2 separate regions of the Homo sapiens genome follow, and region 2 is linked to region 1. The links are contacts of gene promoters, found by promoter capture Hi-C in human tissues and cell types (Jung and others, 2019). All regions are on one chromosome and are shown on one strand. Each heading gives the region's core, a stretch centred on a gene start or on the middle of the fragment in contact. The rest is flanking DNA. Distances are from core to core; before and after follow the strand shown.

Evidence for each region. The method cuts DNA at HindIII sites, captures the fragments that hold promoters and counts their contacts. A contact is called where the count stands out against the background at its distance.
Region 2: a fragment that was not itself captured here is called in contact with the fragment with the promoter of CLPSL2 in region 1 in 1 of the 25 tissues and cell types used here (IMR-90 fibroblasts).

Annotation. Positions count from the first base shown.
Region 1 is chr6:35,773,445-35,781,074 of GRCh38, reverse strand. CLPSL2 (colipase like 2) reads right to left here and starts at 4,477. Exons shown (of 3, transcript NM_207409.4): 1 at 4,373-4,477; 2 at 3,494-3,616; 3 at 1,523-1,720. The coding sequence starts at 4,456. The coding sequence ends at 1,625. It overlaps CLPSL1 (colipase like 1), which reads right to left and starts at 56. Exons shown (of 3, transcript NM_001010886.5): 1 at 1-56. It also overlaps the pseudogene CMPK1P1. RefSeq lists a silencer at 4,367-4,496. The HindIII fragment of the contact is 15,017 bases long and covers 1-5,070 here.
Region 2 is chr6:36,094,809-36,102,438 of GRCh38, reverse strand. MAPK14 (mitogen-activated protein kinase 14) reads right to left here. Exons shown (of 12, transcript NM_139012.3): 9 at 6,373-6,452. Among named protein-coding and RNA genes, the nearest start is that of MAPK13, 32 kb to the left of the region's middle. The HindIII fragment of the contact is 3,890 bases long and covers 1,413-5,302 here.

The DNA of each region.
Region 1 (7,630 bases), core at 3,228-5,727:
GAAATATCCTGCACGCCGACCATGTGGGTGTCCTCCCAGCTGTGGGAACACCATGTAAAACCAGCACCCAACCCCGTCAGAATTTTCCCATCCTGCACAATACTCAGGCTAGGCCAATCAGCAAATTCCACCACAATAATTAGTTCAGGCAGACTAAGCCAATCCAATCAGAACCGATCTTAGGATGTTTGCTGAAAATTGTGGAACAGAGATGTTTTCTTTCTCTGAAAGGCACAGTATTGATGTACATGGTGGATTTGTGGTTAAGAGCCTGGCCTCTGGGGCAGGATTGTCTGGGTTCAAGTCTCAGTTCCAACCCTTACTTTAGGAGCCTCGATACCCTGTTTGTAAAATAGGGATAATTATAACACCTACTATAGCCCTGTTGTGACAAAAAGATGAGTCAATACAGTTAAGAAAGCACTTTGGGCCAGGCGCAGTGGCTCATGCTTGTAATCCCAGCACTTTGGGAGGCTGAGGCAGGAGGATCACTTGAGCCCAGGAGTTTGAGACCAGCCAGGGCAATACAGTGAGGCCCTGTCTCTATTAAAAAAAAAAAAAGAAAAAGAAAAAGAAAAAAAATTGGCCGGGCATGGTGTCACACACCTGTAGTCCCAGTTACTTGGGAGGCTGACGTGGGAGGATCTTTTGAGCCCAGGGGGTTGAGGCTGCAGTACGCTGCGATCGAGCCACTGCACTCCAGCCTGGGTGCTGTCTTAAATTTTTTAATTAAATGAAAAAGAAAGCACTTTGCACAGTGTCTGGCACATAGGAAGTGCTCAATAAATCCTACCTGTTATTAGGTGACACCTGGAATGTTTGTGACTACTGGGAAGGAATTCAGCCTGAGAGCTGCTGGCTCTGGCCCTACCTAAGGGTTGCCTGACCTCTGGACTTTCATTTCCCATCACCAGTAAATCCCCTCCTCACCTAGACCAATTTGAGTTGGTTTTTAAGATACTTGCAGCAGAAAGAGGCCTCACTGCTACCCCAATGATATGACCTAGGGCAAGTCATGTCGCTTCTCTGGGCCTCAGTTTCTTTGTCCATGCAGTGAACCGACAATACCTGAGAGAGCGGAGGCATCCATGCACCAGGTCCCTTTCCCACCACAGGCATTTCTGCATTTATACTTTGCACATTCTCACCAACTCTCTAATGATCTCTACCCTTTTGTGCCCCACAACCCGCCCCGCAAAACATTCAGATACCTCCACCTAGTCTCTCCCTACCACACACCCCTCCATAGGCACCCCAACATACACTCTCCAGGTACATTCCTCAATCCCGTCTCTCCCACACAGCCCTCCAACCAGAGAATCAGCCCTTTCCCAGACCCAGCCCCTGCTCCACCACACCCTCCCTGTGCCATTCCCTTCCTGCAGTTCTACCCTGACCTCCGGACAGGGCCAAATCCCATTAGAAGCTCATTCATGCCTCCAGTCTCCCCTTTTGCCTGCCCCCTGGACTGGTACAATCTCCACCAGGTCCCCTCGCCCAGAAAGTACAGACAGAGGCCAAGGACAGGAAGTGACTTTAATGTCTCAGGAGCTGGATTTGGAGCAAGTTGGTGGCAACCAGGGCCTATGGCCCCAAGGGAGCAGTGACCAGCCTGCATCTTCCTCTAAATCATATGGCACCGGCGGGAACACATCAAGTCCTTGGATATGCACGTCAAGCCCATCCGGCAAGGGCAGATGATGTTGGTAGCTCCCTTGGTCTGCAGGGAGTGGGTATGAGAATCGGGAGTCACCAGGATGCAGGAAGGATGGGGACTTAAACTTCTTGGGGACCAGAACCAAGAGTACCAGGCCTGGAGTAAGACAGACCTGGGCTGTCTCTACAGCTTATAACTGCGTGACCTTCAGCAAGTCAATGAACCTCTCCAGCTCGGTTTCCTCATCTGTCAAATGGGGACAGTAATAGTAACCCCCCTCATAGGGTTGTTGTGAGGACTAAATGAGATAGAGCAGATCAAGTGGTGATAATAAAAAGACCCTTTAGGCCATGCGCGGTGGCTCACCCCTGTAATCCCAGCGCTTTGGAAGGCCGAGGCGGGTGGATCACCTGAGGTCAGGAGTTTGAGACTAGCCTGGCCAACATGGTCATGGACTAATAATATAAAAATTAGCACATGCCTGTAATCCCAGCTACTCCAGAGGCTGAGGCAGAGGAATTGCTTGAACCCAGGAGGTGGAGGTTGCAGTGGGCCAAGATCACGCCATTGCACTCCAGCCTGGGCAACAAGAGCAAAACTCTGTCTCAAAAAATAAAAAAAATAAAAACCCTCTAGCCACTTCAGCTATAGGGTCAGGCCATGGTAGGGGCCCTGCTGCTTCCTTAGGGCATTGGCAACTCCCCACACAGGGACATAGAGGCTGGGTCCATCCATCCTAGAAAGGTTTGGGCCCAGGGCCAGGTGGGCAGGAACAGGGCGTACTGAGCATTCTGCTCCCTGCATTCCTAAAAGCGAGTGACAACCATGCTGGACTGCACACTCTCCTTGCCAGGACCACATAATCTTCCCAACAGCCTGGTGGGGTAGGTACTTTAGCCTCTCCTTGTAGATGAGGAAACTAAGGCTCAGAGAGCCATGATGACCTGCTTGAAGTCACAAAGATAGGGTGTGGAAAAGTCAGGATTTAAACTCAGGTCCAACTGCAAAGCTGTGGTCCTGCCACTGCAGTGCCATGCTCCTCTCAAGAAATCATGTCACTGTGGCAGGGAGATGGGGACTAGTAAGGGGAAGGTCATTTCCTACTTACCCTGCCTCAGTGGTGTGAGAGAAGAGATATTCATTCATTCAACAAGCATTTATTGGCCGGGCACGGTGGCTCATGCCTATAATCCCAGCACCTTGGGAGGCCGAGCCAGGTGGATCACCTGAGGTCAGGAGTTCAAGACCGGCTTGGCCAACATGGCAAAACCCCATCTCTACCAAAGATACGAAAATTAGCCAGGCATAGCGGTGCACCCCTGTAATCCCAGCTACTCGGGAGGCTGAGGCCCAAGAATCGCTTGAACCCAGGAGGCAGAGGTTGCAGTGAGCCGAGATCATGCCATTGCACTCTAGCCTGGGTGACAGAGCGAGACTCCATCTCGAAACAAACAAACAAACAACAATAAGCATTTATTGAGCACCTACTATGTGCAGATACTAAGCTGGGGGTAGGTGCTTCATAGATGAATATGATGCGATCCCTGCCCTTGAAGAGTTCCAACCACTGGGAGAGGCAGAGAAAAGACATGGCCAGTTAGGGAGATACATGGTCTGCTGAGGGTCTGACCCCAGGGTACAGGAGCTCCAAGGAGGGAAGCCTTCTCAGAGGAGGTGGCTGGAGTTGTTTTGCACCATGAGTAGGAGTTTGCCAAGTGGAGAAGAAGAAGGGCACTCCAGACAGAGGTGAAAAAACAGGTGGGGCCAGGTGTTTTTTTTTTAACCTCCCTGCCCGCTTCTCTACTTGCCAGAAGTTGCCCCATACTAGGGCCTCACCTGGGGCAAGCAGATCATGGTTATTCTGGCCCTGGGGGCACAGAAGGCTCCACCGGAGTCCAAGTCCATGAGGCAGCAGCCACTGTAGCACTCAGAGTGGTGGAAGCACCTGTCTGTGATTTTCTGTGGGGACAGGCAGAATGTCTGCCAGGCTGGGAGCAATCCCTGAGTCGTGTGGGCGGGTAGGGGAGGGTTCCCACCATTGCCAAAGAGCCCAGGGATCCAGGAGAAGTCATGAGGTTGTCACCCCTTGGGGGGCTGGTTCCCCCCCCAGCCCCACCCCGGCCCCTCAGCAGGACCCAGGGCAGCAGAGAGGAGGAGAGGGGGATTAGCACTTTTCCCTCGGCCTCTCCTTTCCTGGACCCCCCTCACCTCCATGAGTCCCATGGGGTGTGTACTCTTAAGTCCCATTTTGCGGGGCAGGGTTGGGGGATGAGAATGAAGGGGCTGCGGGCTCGAAAAAGAGGGAGAGAAAGAGGAGAAAAGGGGAGAGCCCTCGTGCCTGGAAGAATCACTAGACAGTGAGAGGAGGTGGAAGAAGAGGAGGAGAAACCAGAGCATGCAGGGTGGGTTTGCCTGTGAGCAGTTTGGGGAGGGAAGCGAGCCCAGGACTGAGGCCATCGGAAGGGGCACGGGCGGGGGAGGTGGAGGGAGCGAGGGTGCTGGTCATAGGCCAATTTCTCTCCCCTCTGAGGCCACCAGGGGAAAGTGAAGCGGCTTTTGAAGTCCGTCTGAGGATGCCCCAGGCTACCCGCCTGGGTGTGGTTCCGGACCCACCTCTCCCTTTCAGGCTGCCCGGCGCCTTCGGGCTCCAGTGCCCCGGCGGCGGGGCCACCCTCTCCTGCGGTCGCGGCCGGCTGGGCGCGCTCCCCGGCTCACCTTTTTATATTGCGGAAGCGCGCTCCAGAGGGGCAGCACCGCCCCCGACAGGACCCCCGCCACGAGCGCCAGGGCTGCGGCCATGGGCCTGGGCGGCAGAGCAGCGGCGGGGTTCCGAGGGGCCGCGGGATAAAACCTCTTCCCCGGCCACGTGACCCGGCGCCCCAGGCCACCCCGGCGGAGGAGGGACGTGGAGGGCGAGGACGCCTGCGGAAGGGAAGGAGGGAGGAAAGGCGCTCAGGCTCGCACGGGCGGGATTCCAGACTGTAGGGGCCCTGGGAGCCTCCATACGTGTTACTTCCAAGTAGAAGCTTGAAACTGTAAGATAAAACTCTATTTTTATTGTAAGATAAAACTCTATTTTATTGTATTTATTTATTTTACAGACGGAGTCTCGCACTGTCGCCCAGTGCAGTGGCGTGATCTCGGCTCACTGCCATCTCCGCCTCCCAGGTTCAAGTGATCCTCCTGCCTCAGCCTCCCGAGTAGCTGGGACTACAGGTGTGCGCCACCACGCCGGGATAATTTTAAAAATTTCTGTAGAGACGGGGGTCTCCCCATGTCGCCCAGGCTGGTCTCTAACTCCTGGCCTCAAGTGATGGTCCTGCTTCAGCCTCCCAAAGTGCTGGGATTACAGGTGTGAGCCACCGCACCTGGCCTCAAAACTTTATTTTTATAAACGGCACAAAACATATATGCTGAAATAAAAAGAGCTTCCTTCCTGATGTTGATTCTCTGTCTGCCCTTGCAGCCCCAGATTCTCCCCTTACCTTCGGGATAATCCAGCCCCACCCTCTGGGCTGCTCACACCCGCTGCAGGCCCCATTCTCCTCTTCTGTAAGAACCAGGAGGTGGGACAAGATGGTCTCTAAGTCTTAAATCTCTTGCAGTCTTAATCATTCTATTAATTGTCTAAGGATTTGTCTGTGAATTGTGTGAAAGTCAAGATGTGGGGGCAAAATGGAGAAGTGGGAAGAGAAGAAAACTCAGAATAGGGAGGAGGGTTAAGGGAGAGCTAGAGCTGCACAGAGCAATCCTGGAACCGGGGGAGGCAGGCCTTCCTCAGGACTTCCCTATGGATGAAGCTTCCACCTCACCCCACCTGCCTGCTTCTGCTTTTTTTTAATTTCTATTTTTTTTTAATTTTGTATTGTTAATATTTGTTATAGAGACAGGTTGTCCTTATGTTGTCCAGGCTGGTCTTGAACTCATGGGCTCAAGAGATTCTCCTGCCTCGGCCTCCCAAAGTGGTGGGATTACAGACGTGAGCCACCACTCCCAGCCTGCTTCTGCTTTTGAAGTTTCGCTTAAGAAATGAACCGAGGAATCCTGTCTTGGTGGGGAATAACAGCCAAGAATAACAGCCCCCACCGCACTCAGAGGGCCTTGTATCCATTATTTCCGTGAGCCCTCCCTGTATTAACACTAGCTGTCACAGAGTAATTAACACTGGCTGTAACAACAGAACTCCTGGAATTTCGTGGCTTGGCACAATAATGCTTTATGTACAGTCTGATTTGGGGCAAGATACCCTTCTTCCATCCTGTAGCCATCTATAAGACTGGCCTCTGGCTGGGCATGGTGGCTCATGCATGTATTCACAGCACTTCGGGAGGCCAAGGAGAGAGGATCAGTTGTTTTGGGGGTTTTTTTGGTTTTTTTTTTTTTTTTTTTTTTTTTTTTTTTTGAGACAGAGTCTCACGCTATTGCCCAGGCTGAAGTGCAATGGCACAATCTCGGCTCACTGCAACCTCCGCAAAGTGCTGGGATTACCAGTGGGAGTCACCATGCCCGGCTGAGAGGATCTCGTGAGCTCAGGAGTTCAAGGCCAGCCCTGGGCAATATAGTGAGACCTCATTGCTACAAAAAAAATTTAAGAAATTAGCCAGACATGGTGGCACATGCATGTAGTCCTGGCTACTCGGGAGGCTGAAGCTGCAGTGAGTTATGATCGTGCCACTGCACTCCAGCATGGGCAACAGAGTGAGACCCTGTCTCAAAAAAAAAAAAAAAAACTAGCATCCAAGGTCTCCATGGAAGACCTGCCTTCTCCACTCACAAACCACCTGCTGGAACTAGTCACATGATCCCAACCCTCTAACCTTCTGCAAGGGAGGCTGGGAAATTCAAAGGAGTCTTGGAATATTTAGCATCTACTATCATTTCTGCTGCGTAACTCTTAGCCCTGTTTTACAGACTAGGAACCTGAAGGCTCAAGATAAAGTTACTTGCCCAAGGAACAGGATTAAATGGCAGAGTCAGATATAAATCCAGGGCATTCTAGCTCCTGGGTCCAAGTTCTTACCACTGATCTACACTGCTGCGGGCGGCCAGAGGGCTTTGGCCCTAGTAAGGGGGTTCCCATCATTACCTAGTAAGGGGGCTCCAGCAGTCGCGGTCTGAGCTCTCTTCATATGTGTGTTCTGCTACCTTGGCTGACTAGCGACCCATCCACGCAGACCATTTGTGAACTGGAGAGGAGGCCTGGGGATGGATACTTCCTTGTACTGCTTCACCGGCTTCCTTTGCCCATACCCCCATGACCGTTAGATACTTGAGAAGTATTGTTGACTGCTTAGGAAAGTGGCAAATTTGAAGGCAAGGGGCCAGCAACTGCGTGTCAGGGTTAGCAGCCCCTGGGGAACCCACTGAAGGCCCTGAGGGGTGGTGAAGCCCCTGGAATTCTGTACAAAATATTATGGGCATGGCTTTTTTTTTTCTTAAGCCAGAGATCTTCCGGTTTCCTCAAAAACAACTAGTTCAGAACCTTTATTTTCAGTTGAGGAAACCGAGGCCCAGAGAAGGCAGGGACTTCTCCCAGTAACTCAGCTGGTGAGTAGCAGAGCCAGGCCTAGCTCTGCTCCTGACTCCAAGTCCTGTACCATGGCCTGCCAGCACCGGTCACAGGCACATGTCCAGGGTACCTCTGCATTGCGGGGGAGTAGGAACAAGATCACCAGGGTCTCCAGCGCCGGGAATCCCTGAGCTGCCTGACCTGTGAGCATGGCCACAGCTCTGCCCAGGGCCCAAAACTGGCCACCTCAGACTTCAGTGAGCAGAAGGGGGTCAGTTCAGGACAGGGGAGCACCTTGCTGGTGGACTTCTTACCCCCTATTTCCTGCCTCTTCACCTTCCCCTCCTCTGACAGTCTCTAACGTCTCACTTCTTTTCTTCTGCATCTTTCTGGTGGTGCAAGTGGTGGTTTCCATGACAATGTTCTCACTGGTCTGCAGCAAAATGAAAACAATAAGGATAATG
Region 2 (7,630 bases), core at 2,108-4,607, 320 kb before region 1:
GATAGAACTTCTCCCTTACTGCCATCCTAACTTCCCTAGTTATGATCATCACCTTCTTTATTCCTGCTATCTCTCACAGTTGCATTTCAAGTGAACGAGAATGCTCATCAATCAAATTCTCTTTCATTAGCTTTCTGATCACAGGATGAGAAGTTTAAAAACTGAGGCCAAGATATGTAAGAAGTAGCCCTGAGACAGCCTTCTCAAACAGCTAAATTGGTAGAGGGGTTGGTATTCCCAAAGCAAGTCTTGGACCAGCAGTCTTTTGACAGTGCTGACTTCAGTAGGTGCTCTTAGTACATCAAAGGATATCAATATTAAACCTTGCTAACAAAGTAACGGTGGTAACAAAAAAGTTAATATAAACTTAATATAACAGTCCTACCTCACAGGGTTGGAGTGAAGATTAGAGATAACAAACCTAGTACTTTCTTAACACAGTACTTGGTTCCAAGTGACAGTTCAAGAAACATTATCTGCTATCCCACTATCACCTTCAGAAGCAAAGTCTGCTGTCTATCTTAACCACCTCTTTAAAACTCCTGTTTTAATACAGTCCAACAGTAAAAGTATGTATGTATATTTATGTTTACACATACACACACAAGTTTATAAAAAGTTCTGGTTGCCCAGGCACGGTGACTCACGCCTGTAATCCCAGCACTTTGGGAGGCCAAGGTGGGCAGATCGCTTGAGCCCAGGACTTTGAGACCAGCCTGGGTAACATGGTGAAAACTTGTCTCCAAAAATACAAAAAATTAGCCAGGTGTGGTGACGCATGCCTGTGGTCCCAGCTACTTGGGAGACTGAGGTAACAGGATCGCTTGAGCAGGGAGATGGAGCCCAGGAAGCTTGAGCCCAGGAGGTGGAGGTTCCAGTGAGCTAAGATCGTGCCACTGCACTCCAGCTGGGGTGACAGAGTTAAGATCCTGTCTTAAAAAAAAAAAAATCTGGTTGCTTGGGCAAGTTCACCTTCTTTATTTATTAAAAAAATTTTTTTAGAGACACAGTCTCTGCTCTGTTGCCTAGGCTGGAGGTCACTGGCACAATCACAGCTCACTATGGCCTCTAACTCCTGACTCAAGCAACCCTCCTGCCTCAGCTTCCCAAGTAGCTGGGACTACAGGCATGTGCTATCATGCCCTAATTTTTAAATTTTTTTGTAGAGCTGCAGTATTGCTGTGTTGCCCAGGATGGTCTCAAACTCCTGGGCTCAACTGATCCTCCCATCTCAGCCTTCCAAAGTGCTGAGGTTGCAGGTGCACGCCACCACACCCAGCCTTCCGCTTCTTAATTATTGCATGTGGAGTCAGGAGGAAAGGTCTGCTTTGAAAAGCAATTGAGAATCTTTCTGATTTGAAAAGAAAGTTTTAGGAATTGAATACATAAATGGCTGTAATCCCTTTCTACTTGAACATGTAAATAAAAAGAGGAAGGGAAAACAGGTAAGAGAGAACTATCTCATTCAGAGAACAGTCATCCCTTTAATAAAGATAAATCAAAAGACGACCTGAATATAGCTGAAGTAGAAACAAAGCTGCTGGGAAGGGCCCTCTGTGATGCCAACCTGGTTCCCCAAAATATTAAGGGTATCTTACAAAGAAAGAAGTGCCCCAATCATCTCTGATAATAAAACAAGAGTTAGACTAAGTAGTTAATAATTAATAAAGAAGGTACCTAACTGTACCAAAGTGTTTGTATTTATTCTATATTATTTGTGTATTTTCTTTTAAATATAGTACATATTAGTATTGGATATTTCAGTTTTGTTTTTAAATAAAGAATCCTCTTTTGGTCATTAAAAAAATGGATGAATTGGAAAGCATGCTAATGGACTTCAGTTAACTACCCTTCTGATAAAGGTCACGATAGTAGCACACCCTAGCTACAGGCAGAGCACCTAGAAAGAAACCGCCTCACAAGCACTAAATTCACACAACCAAATATAAAAATAACAATTTTCCATTTACAAGCTTACTAATTATATTCCCAATCTCACAGGACTGGATGACATTTTATCCCAAAAGTCAACATCTTGCAATAGCACATAGGCAGGCCTCAAGGCACATGCAAGCATCCAGTGATGTTAAGAACTGTTGGTTATACGGTGGCAATAAAATGAGAATGTGGCTTCTCAGTGCGACATCCCTGTACAGTCTCTTTGTTCTCACCTCATGGCTTGGCATCCTGTTAATGAGATAAGCGGGGGGTGTTCCTGTCAGACGCATAATCTGCTGAAGCTGGTTAATATCTTAGATGCCTAGTCAAGGGCATTGTTAAACATACAGTGCAAAAAATAATTTTCAACTCAAGTTTTTAAAAAGGTCAAAAAGCCACCCCCAAACAGACAAAAAAACCTACCCTCCATTCCCCCTACCCGAGAGCCCACAGCTGCATGCTACAGTACACTTCTGTGAATGACATGAGTAACTAGGCACGTAGCCAGTGACTGGCCATGCAGATAAGAAAAATTACTTTTCTTTGGTTTTAGCATCATCTTTACTGTTAAATATTTTAGGTTCCCTGGAAACAGACTGCCCCTTGATCCAGGATGCCAGCCATAGAACTGTTTTCAAGTACTGATGGCCAAAACCTGTTTGTGGGAGAAATATAGATGATTCCAAAAATTTTGACTCAACTTTGAACAAAATAAAATATCCAACATATCCATTCAAGGAAGAGACTAAACTTTTGCGGCACAGGTTCTCCAAGGCACCATCCCTCCGAATTAAGACACACGTGGGCATCTGGGTTAATAAGCAATGCCACATTTCAAAGACATTAGTTAGTGGTACATTTAAAATACTTGCCACAAACACAAAATGGTAAATGAAGAAAGAGGAGAAGAGGAGAAGGTTAGAGGCTAATGGCAAAGGCAAAACAGAAGTCACAGGCTGCTGAGAGTGTTAAAGCATGCCACATGATTTCCTCCACAAGTCTCTTCAACTAGCGAACAGACTAACCTCATTTAACAAACAGCTGGAGGGAAGTCTGCAGAATACTCTGCAAGCATCTGATAAGGGCAGAACTATGAGATTTTCTATATGTATAGGCACATATGTAAGCTGTACTACAACTTCTCTCTTTTAACTGTTCCATCAATGTTAATACAACTCACCCTCTTCTAAAATGTCAGAACTGTTTATCATGTTCCTACTAAGAGCAGAAGTGATGAGATTTTAAAAATATTCAATGTAATTCAATAAACCCCTTTTCTAGTCCTGTTCTTGTTAACTACTAATTCCCTCATTCAGGTGAAGTGTCATCTTTAATAAGCACCATGGCCAAGCAATTTTACTTCATGGCTTTCCCAAATAATTTTTCTACTTTAGCTCGTCCTCTGAACTGAACTCCCTAGTGGTCAGATGACTTAGCAGTAATCTGTTTAAGGCTGGCCACAGGGAGGGAGCTAGAGCCATGTGCTCCACGCTGCCTTTTACGCTCCCTAAGCCCAAAGACAGAGGCCAGTAAATTCCAAAAGGGGATAGGAAATACACTTTGATTTGCGGTCCTTTTAAGAAACGTTAACAGATCCATACCAGATGATGGAATTCTTTATTTTGTTAGGAGTACAGATAACAGAATTTAGAGTTACCTTTAACAAATCACATAACAAATGATACTTTTCATGCCAAGGGAAATAACAAAAAGGGGCCACAAAGTAAACCAGCAATAGCAGAATACCAGTTGGGTCTTAAAATGTAAAAATCCTCCACTTCCCCTTTCTTTCTGTGAATGATACCTGGCCTGCACATTTTCTGTCTTTGTCTCCTTTAGTCAAAGAGGTTATTATATCCCCTTTCTGTCAAGAAGTTAGAAAGATTCTATTTCTGGAGGAAAATGTGAATGAGTCAGGTCTTCGCTTTTTTATCTAATTTAATTAATTAGTTTATTTATTTTTAAAGACAAGGTCTTGCTCTGTTGCCCAGGCTGGAGTGCAGTGCATGATCACCACTCCCTGCAGCCTCAAACTCCTGGCCTCGAGTGATCCTCCTGCCTCAGCCTCCCAAAGTGCTGTGATGACAAATGTGAGCCACTGTGCCCAGTCTGCTTTTGCTTTCTTAATATGATTTTCTTGTTCTTTCACTGATTATTATAGATACTGGGACATTAACCAAATGAATTCTCTGTCCTTGGCCTCCATCACAACCCATTTATACCTTTTCCTATGGCTCATTCTAATAGGTTCTAAATCCATTACTGCATTCTCTTACTCGGCATTCAATTTCTTCATAATTATTGCCATCACTACTTCACTACTTTTCAGGAGAATGAAAACAGCTGTTGGCTATTTACTGCACTCCTTCACTAATGTCTTTTTTCTTTTTTTAATTTTTAAAATCTCTGAACAATTTTACTCACCTGGCCTTATTTTTCCATTCTGTTCCCATACATCATGCGCTTTTAAGATAAACAGGTACTTGGGCCGTGTCACGAACATCAAATTAATCTTGTCTACCCCTTAGGATGTTTAAACTACTTTTATCCACTCACCCCAATTATGTAGGAAACAAACCAAAAAAAAAAACCTTTCTTATTCTTATACTCAATATAATATTATTTGAGTTAAGTTCTGTATTCTGGTACTCAATTTCAGTAGAGCTGTTGAAATGTATAATGTGCCTCATTTCACAGAGAGACCTCCATTATTAGGCTGTGCACTCATTGTTTCTTTCTTAAAAATAAGTGATGGATTAATGACAGATAAATACTATTGACTATTTTACCTAGACTTTGGTTTGAATTCCTAATCCAATTCCAAATGACTAATAGCACGTATCTATAGGGCAGATGGTTGGGATGGAAGAGAAGACTAAGAAAGGGCTGCTAGGAGACACTCTCAGGAAGGAAATGAATTTGCTTGGTCTCATTAGCACTATTTATTAATTGAGCTCCTCCCTCTGCCCTTAGGTCCTCTTACTGTAAGACAGTGTTTCTAAGCAAAAACATTAAAAAAAAAGTACTGCTCTTTCTAAGCATCATCTGATATCTTTGATTCACTCTAATTCAGCTTCTACATATCATAAAGGAGAAAAAAATACCTCTTTAGGTTGACATTGTGGTAACACTGACAATGACTTTCAAAATAGTGTGTAATCACATGGGATTATAGTTTGGATCATGTTATCAGAACATCTGGGATCTATACTCAGCTCTGCCACGTGATTCAGTGCATGACATGGAAAAGTCACTGCCCTTCTGGGCTTTTGCTTCTTTATCTTAAATAAGTAAATGAAACAAATTCAGAGTGGAGGTTCAGAAATACACTGGGCTTTGGGATCCTTTCAAGAAATGTACCGGATACATACCAGATGACGGTATTCTTTATTTTGTCAGGAAGATGATGAACGGTTCCAACTCACCTGCTTATGCTTGCCTCAAGCTACCCAGCCATCTTCCCAACTAGGCAAAGGGCCCCTTCAGTCATAAATGTTGGGAGGAGAATCCAGGAAGGCATAACTGGAGCTTGGCTCCATAGCTCTTTTTTTCTTTTGTTCAACTGCCTGGCAGCAGATCGAGGGAAAAAGAAAAGCTGGGCTTTCATGGCTTCTCTCATGCCTCTGGCCCAAGAAAATGACCAAGAGCAGGAAATCATAGCAAAAGTAAGCCAGACTCACATTCCCATGGCTTCTGTCTAAGTCCCTGCTTAGAAGCAAGAAAGCACTAGTTCCAAACTCTGTCTCAGGTTATCTAACTTATAATTACAAGGCAATAGGAGGAAAATTTATAACCACATTCCTGTGTATCTGAGGTATCAGGAGTGAAGCTGTTTCTTCTGAGTGGGGTCTAGGGACTGGGTAGAAAGGTCCCTCTGTTGGGAACAAACATTTTACATAGGATATGTGAGTATCTATTCTAAAACAATAAAAAATAACTTCTGGGAAGGGGCAACAGTGTGCAGACAATGTACATTTTATTCTTTTAGTGATTAAGTTAAACTAAATACATGGTGAAGCTCATGCTCTGAGAACAAACACTAGAAACAGTGAAAAGAGCTCTAGAGCATACGTGAAACTTCTGAGAAAGAAGAAAGTCAGGTCTTGAGGACAGAGACACAAAGTTTACATTAATCTCTTGGAATGAATTAGAATCTCAAATCTCATTGCTTTACTGGGATACTATTGTCTAATGGAGGCTCCCGTGATCTTAGTGTGTACCCAGATAGAGAATAAAACACACTTGTGCATGCAAGCAGGCACACATGCGTGCACGCACACACACACTCACACTGTCTTATACCTCACTCATCCGGGAAGTCAGCACACAAAGGGCATGTGTGCTTACAAACACACCCAGGTCAAAGTACAGATTGGTAGAAGGCAAGTGGCAGAGGCTCCCAACAGGGCAGATAATTACAAAGCATCAACTCACAGACTCTGAGGAGATTTTCTTCAAAAGCTCAGCCCCTGGGGTTCCAACGAGTCTTAAAATGAGCTTCAACTGATCAATATCTAATGGTGGACCATAAAGGAAAATGTTGGGACAAAATAAAAATGAAAAACAAACAATGACAAACAAAACAAAAACAAACAAACAGAACACACCGAGAACAAAAATGAAACACCCCAAACCTAGCCAACACGGTGAATCCCTCTAGGTCAAGGCTCCTGCAGGATGATCACTTCACGTAGGGCATGCTCCTCCTGTACAAAGATTCAAAATGCTACCAAACACATATCCACTTTATATTCATTTTATGCATCTGTCAACAGCATGTATCAGTAAAGTGAGGCAACTTTAGCTGGTTCTTAGCTGCCAAAGACAGCAGGTGAAAACACAAGAGCTTCACTCAGTTTACACTGCCCTCTTCATCTGCCATCACAGTGTCAGTAACCAGTTCAGCAAAGTGCACTGATAATTAGAGGGCCACAGATAAGGAAAAAAGCAGCAGAAGACAGGAGCTAGGGATGTACAAGTCTATTTATGAATATTCTCCCAAGCGTGACCTAAAGAGCTTGTGATATGACAGTGGAAGGCCTGTGAGACCCCAAAGCCTGACCACTGGAGCACACCCTCTGGAAAGGGAAGCCTCGCCTCTCACACTGGCTATAGCAGGCACTATGAGGGAGAGTCGCCAGCAGAGGGCGCTCTCCCATCGCATGTTCCTTTAGGAGCGCCATGAGAACGCAAATACAGGCGGTTTCAACCTTATAAAATGCAAATGAACAATGCTTAACAAACTTCACACATCCCAAAGGCTCTAAATAATAGGCCACAATGCCATAACTTTTATCCTGGTAGCTAACACTTCAATGTATACTCAGAATGTATGTGCATGTGTTAACCAGAAGACAAAAATTTGTTTGTTCTCATTGCTTTTAATCTTACCTAAAAAGGAAGTTAAAAAGAGGGGGAAAAATATTATAAAATAGCTTTTAATATTTCCTCTGAAAATGTGAACAGTTTATCCACGTTTATACTGACTGACATTCCAGGGAGGGAGAAGGGGAGGATGACTGTCTTCTGACCCATCAGGTTTTTCACATGACTAAATCCTCTTGGCTTCAGGTCTCAGCTTCAACTTCACCTCCTAAGGGAGGCCTCCCCTCAACACTCTATATACATAACACCCCACCCCCCAATTCTCTCTCAGCACCATGCTTGATAACATCATAGTGCTTATCACAGC